2 separate regions of the Homo sapiens genome follow, and region 2 is linked to region 1. Evidence: promoter capture Hi-C in 16 types of primary human blood cells and fetal thymus (Javierre and others, 2016). All regions are on one chromosome and are shown on one strand. Each heading gives the region's core, a stretch centred on a gene start or on the middle of the fragment in contact. The rest is flanking DNA. Distances are from core to core; before and after follow the strand shown.

Region 1 (2,850 bases), core at 133-2,632:
ATCCTGAAATGAGATAGCACTGACCCAGGTAGAGGTGGGCCCGCACCTGGAGAGGTCAGGGAAGGGAGACTGGACCTCAGCCCAGGGTCTGGCACCAAAGCAACCACCCTGCCCTCTAGCTTGGGCCTCGCAGCAGCGCTAGCACCCAGCAATAGGAGACAATGGGAAATGTCCACTCGCTGGATTGCTAAGAAATACAGGTCCTGGCCCAACTCCAATTCCACCTGAGTCCTCTGAAAATGTATCAGGCCCTCACCCACCCAGGGCACCCACCCAGCTTCCAGACCCTCACGAAAGGGTGGCAGAGGAAGAAGCTAACATCCGGGCCTGTGGCTGGTGTGGGAGTGGAGGATGTTCCCATGGGTCCGCCTCAGTTGGGGTCTGTACAGGGGTCTGGGAGAGAGTAGGAGTCTTGCCCCTGGCTACCCACAAACCCCTCCCTCCAGCGATATCTCGGTCCCGTGGGGCTGGCTAAACCGGCTGAAACCTGGCGGGTCACCCAGAGAAAGCTAGAAGAGCCCGGCTCCCGCGCGGGCGCCCACAGGGTAGTGCCTGAGTGTGCGTGTTGGGGAGTCGGATGTGCCCTCTAGATTAGATGAGGAATGTTCATGGGTGCGGCCACCCGGAGCCGCTGGGAGCGGGACAGAAGGTGGTCAGAGAGTGGACTTTGCCTCAGACTGGGTTCCCTAGAGGGCTGGGGGCACTGTCCGGGCAGAAAGAGGGGTGAAAAAGAGAGAGGAGGGAAGGGAGGGCTGGGAAGGGTTGGCGGGTTGTGCGCAGTGACTGTGGCTCCGGTGGGGGCTTCTGTGGCCGCTGGTAACCACCTTGGAGGGGGCACGATGGGGCACGGGCAGTGGGCACTCTGTACACGGTGCAGGGTGCTCACGCTCGCAGCGACGGCCACGGGGTAGTGTCGTGGTGAGAGGGATGCAGGGCGATCTTGGGGGCGTCCGTGCGGGAAGCGCCCTAGGGGTACGCGCAGCGCGTCGGTGACAGTGTGAGCCCGGGTGGGGAGCGCAAGGTTCGCGAAAAATGAACGCAGCGCCGGAGTCCCTCACCCATCCTGGCCGGACCGGGAGCCCCCGGCCAACCCCGTGGGCCCGCGCGTGCTCTCACCAGCTGCAGCAGCATGAGCGCCCCGAGGCGGGAGCGCACGAAGCCCAGGTCCGGGCGCAGCGCCGACACCGAGGCTTCGGCGCCCTGCGCAGGACTGCTGGTCCGCGTGCTAACTTTCGACGGGAACTCGGCCATGGCGGCTCCGCTTGCCTCCCGAGGTCGCTACGGCCGCCGTCGCCGCCCCTCCAGCGGTGGGTGCCGGCTCCCGCGCCGCTTTTCCCCCAGGCTCCGGATCCCTGTGTGGCTCCAGGCGCTGCAGGAGGCGTCGGGGCTGGGAGCCTGGGGCGCCAGGTGCGGCCGAGATCCCGGCTCCGCCCCCGCCGCCGGGGCCGCCCCCTTAACCCTTTGCTCGCCGCCGCCGCCCCAGCCGCGACCGGTTCGTGGGCAGCCGCGTCCACTCCCCGGACCAGTAAACAACCCCGGGTCCGTGAATCGGCTCCGCCAGCACCAGCCTAGACCGCTTCGCCGGCCTCCCCCGGGGCAAGCCGCCCGCTGGGAATTTCCCGGCTCTCGCCCAGGCCGTGGTAGCTTCCGCGCCTAGGGATAAACTTGTGGTAGCTCGCGGGGGACACCGCTCTCCCAGGCGCTTTCTACGCGCTGTGCACCCTCGGCCTAGGCCCCGGCGCAGCGACTCTTGAAGAGTCCCGGGAGAAGGCTGGATGCGGTGGCTCCTGCCTCTGATCGCAGCACTTTGGGAGGCTAAGGTGAAAGGATAATTTCAGGCCAAGAGTTCGAGACCAGCCTGGGTAACACAGTGAGACGCCCCCCCTCCCCCCGTCTGTATTTTATAGAAAAGAAAGTAAAGAAGAATCCTGGGAGACCCAGCGCGGGGAAGGGGAGGGTCTGGGTAAGCGGTGGGTAAGCGGTAGAAGGGGGAGGTCCTTTTCTGCCTATTAATGCTGTTTTCACTTCTGAACATATTTTATATAACTTAGATGATCGCGGAGCCTCAGTTTCCTCGTCTGTCATATAGATACGAAGGAAACCTGCCTCACAGAGCGTTGTAGGGAATAAATGAAATATTCCCCAGAAAGCTCCTGACAGCGTGAGGGAGGAGGGGTCACTCAGAAGATGGGAGGTCATATACAGTTTCATTGCCACACATGCACCCTAAAATACTTACACACACACACACACCTCTTGAGCCTAGAGGTTTGCACAGATAGGTCATCATGCATTCATCAACCAATGTTTGCTGAACACCTACTACATGCCAGGCCCTGTGGATACAGCAGGAAACGAAGTAGACAAGGCCTTCTTGGCTCCCACATTTTTTTTTTCCCAAATACCCACTTAAAAAGAGAGCCACTTAAAAAATTGTTTTTAACTGACATGTAATATTAGGTTGGTGCAAAAGTTATACGGTTTTTGCATATAAAAGTATAGCAAAAACCGCAATTACTTTTTCGGCAACCTATAATTGTACCTAAATATGGGGTACCATGTGATGTTTTGGTACCTGTGTACGTTGTGTAAAAAAATCAAATCAAGGTACTTAGCATATCCATCACCTCATACATTTATGGCTTCTTTGGGGTGAGAACATTCAAAATCCCCACTTCTAGCTACCATATTTTGAAATATACAATATTAGGGCCAGGCGCTGTGGCTCACGCCTATAATCCCAGCACTTTGGGAGGCCAAGGCAGGCAGATCACCAGAGGTCATGAGTTTGAGACCAGCCTGGTCAACATGGCAAAACCCTGTCTCTACAAAAATACAAAAAAATTAGCC
Region 2 (2,850 bases), core at 168-2,667, 150 kb after region 1:
CACTGCAGCCTCGACCTCCCAGGCTCAAGTGATCCTCCTGCCTTTGCCTCCCAAGTAGCTGGGACCACAGGTACATACCACCATGCCTGGCTAATTTTTTTTTTTTTTTAATTATTTGCAGAGATGGTCTCCCTGTGTTGCCCAGCCTGGAAAATGTATGTTCTAAAAATAGTACAGCACCGCGATGTCTTCAGCATGAAGCCACTGGAGGCAGCATGGCAGGCTCCAGTCACCCCAGCACTCACCAGTTCTTACAGGCCTTCCTCTTTTTCCCTTCCCCACAAGAAGCAGCCCGCAGGGAAGCTGGATCTGGCTTCTTCAAATCTTCTGGATCCAGCAGCTCATCTGAGTCAATGAGATCCTGGAGAGTGTTCAAAGCAATGAGTGATACAGTCGTGGTCTCTGCTAATGAAAAGCTAAAGTGACTGCAGGCTTCGAGAGGAAACTTGGAGTCCAGGGTAAAGAAGGTGTCCACCCTGTCCTCCTTTTGGTTGATCATCATGTTCAACCTGACCACATGCTCAAGAGGCCAACGGTGAGTTAAACTACATCCACAGAAGATGCACTAGGATGCAAAGGAATTAGAAACAAATTTACATGAGAAAAAGCTGTATGACTGGCCAGCAATGTGTAGAGAATATACACATGTTGGGGGTTGGGGGCAGGAGTGGGGAGAAGGGAGGGAACAGGCAGAACAGAGAAAGAGAGAAGTGTTTATGAAGAGTCACGTGAAAAAGGGAATAAAATATCTTTTACATAATCCCAGATAAAAATCAAATAATTATATATACCTTTATGTAATTCTTTGTAAATGTGTAGACACTTAGTCTGTAAACCCTATGAGAGCATGAACCTCACTTATTTTGCTCACTACTCTAACTTCAATAGTAGAGGTGTAGAAATGAAGAACTTTATTACAGACATGGCCAAAGATAGAAAATAGTGCTTTTTAAAGCATGGAACAGTCAGCAACTTGCCCAAAGGTGCCAATAAAACTATTTAAGCTGACAAAATCTTTTCAGGTTTACACATGCCCACAAGAGTTTTCAACATATCGTATGAAGTGAGAACAAGAAATTATGTGGGGAAAAAGAGATGCTAAAAAATTTAAAATGCCACCAACATGGCCAAGCGCAGTGGCTCACACCTGTAATCCCAGCACTTTGGGAGGCCGAGGCGGGCAGATCACTTGAGGTCAGGAGTTTTGCGACCAGTCTGGCCAACATGGTGAAACCCCGTCTCTGCTAAAAACGCAAAAATTGGCCAGGTGTGGTGGCACATGCCTGTAATCATAGCTACTTGGGAGGCTGAAACATGAGAATCGCTTGAACCCGGGAGCAGAGATTGCAGTAAGCCGAGATTGTGCCATTGCACTCCAGCTTGGGCAAGAGAGCGAGACTGTCTCCAAAAAAAAAGCCACCAACATGGAGTTTCCTTCTAAATCAAAGATGTGACAGGCATAGTCACAAATCTGGGCTTTAAATACGTTCACACCTACAAGTCCAGAAAGGTCACTATAGCTGTTCACACCCAAACTGGGGCCTGAAAGAAAGCAATCAAGTGACAATGCTGCCAGCTCACCATGCTGTCGTCCTCCATATCGTTGGCTGAGAGGGTCCACAGCTTGGCAGCAGCAGGGTCCACAGCAGGTTTCACTGAGTCCAAGCAATAAAAGAAAAAACTCCATAAACACAGTCAGAAACTATTAATTACAAACATACATAAATGCTTCCTGCTGTGTAGAAGAGAACACACTGGCCTGGGAGGCAGAAGATGTGGGTTCACAGTCCAGCTCTACCCCTCTGAGAGGTCTGACCTTGGGCCAACCACTTGCTGATAGTTACAGAAGTCACCATTTGCTAAGCTCTTGCTTTGCACCAGGCACCATATTAAGCACTTATATACATTATCTAACTTAATTCTGCTGACAACCTTATGAGGTAACTATCTGTCATCCTACTTTTACCGCTGAGGAAACAGGTTTAGACACTTAGGCTGGTTCCACAGGCTGCAAAGCCTGTCTGATGCTTTTAACCTCCATTCCATATTGCTTCCTCCTCGATACCTTAGTTTCCATTCTATAACATGAAGTTAAATTGTACTTCCTATGTTACTGCAGGTGTTTTGAGGATTAAATGAGAAATGTGTCAAAACCTTCAAAAATAGCAGAGCTTTAGCCTCATGTAAACCTGCTACATACAAGAAAATAGGCTCTAGAGCTGCTGGTGGCAAGGTAACACCATCAGTGGCAGACAAACCTCACACTTCCTGGTTCTCTGTCTAGTCAGGAGAATGCAAGGAAGAGGCAGAGAGCTGAGGCTCGGATGCAGTGTGGGCAAATCCTCGCAGGCCCTTGGGGTAAGAGTACCCTCTAGTGATCATTGTCACAGCTGGATGCTCATACCTTCCACAAGGCCAACTGTTCTAAGCTATTCCTACCCATTCTGGAACCATGAATCGAAAGGTTAGATTCCAAAGGATTTCTTGAAGATTTAGGTTAGACAGTCAAAACCGTACAAGTGGGAATGTACCAGTAAATATCTGTTAATGTCTGCATACCTCACAGCTGGGTCAATTCAGGCATTTAAAAATAGGGATAGGAAGGATGAGGATGGAGCTGTGTGTGTGTGTGTGTGTGCGTGCGCGTGCGTGCACGCGTGTGCTTGTACACAATTTTCTAGTCAGAAGAAATATAGTTTTATAAGTGTCTTAGCATCCTCAAAGTAAGAACAGCTGATTTTCCTGGCATGGGGAAAAAAGCACATGAGAACAGGAACAGGGCACTCTCATACACCATTACCACTACACTGTGAGGTCTTCTGAGGAGAAACGTTAATTCTGGGACCTGGA

What was found. Contacts are between HindIII fragments. The CHiCAGO score rates a contact against its expected background, and 5 or more counts as called.
Region 2: a contact is called between a fragment that was not itself captured here and the fragment with the promoter of PLLP in region 1, in 1 of 17 cell types (naive CD4 T cells). The highest score is 5.1, in naive CD4 T cells.

The regions. Positions count from the first base shown.
Region 1 is chr16:57,283,290-57,286,139 of GRCh38, forward strand. PLLP (plasmolipin) reads right to left here and starts at 1,383. Exons shown (of 4, transcript NM_015993.3): 1 at 1,117-1,383. The coding sequence starts at 1,251. RefSeq lists an enhancer at 461-1,122 and a silencer at 1,167-1,576. The HindIII fragment of the contact is 12,639 bases long and covers 1-2,850 here.
Region 2 is chr16:57,430,906-57,433,755 of GRCh38, forward strand. It overlaps CIAPIN1 (cytokine induced apoptosis inhibitor 1), which reads right to left. Exons shown (of 9, transcript NM_020313.4): 6 at 1,582-1,655; 7 at 246-361. Among named protein-coding and RNA genes, the nearest start is that of CIAPIN1, 15 kb to the right of the region's middle. The HindIII fragment of the contact is 3,500 bases long and covers 1-2,850 here.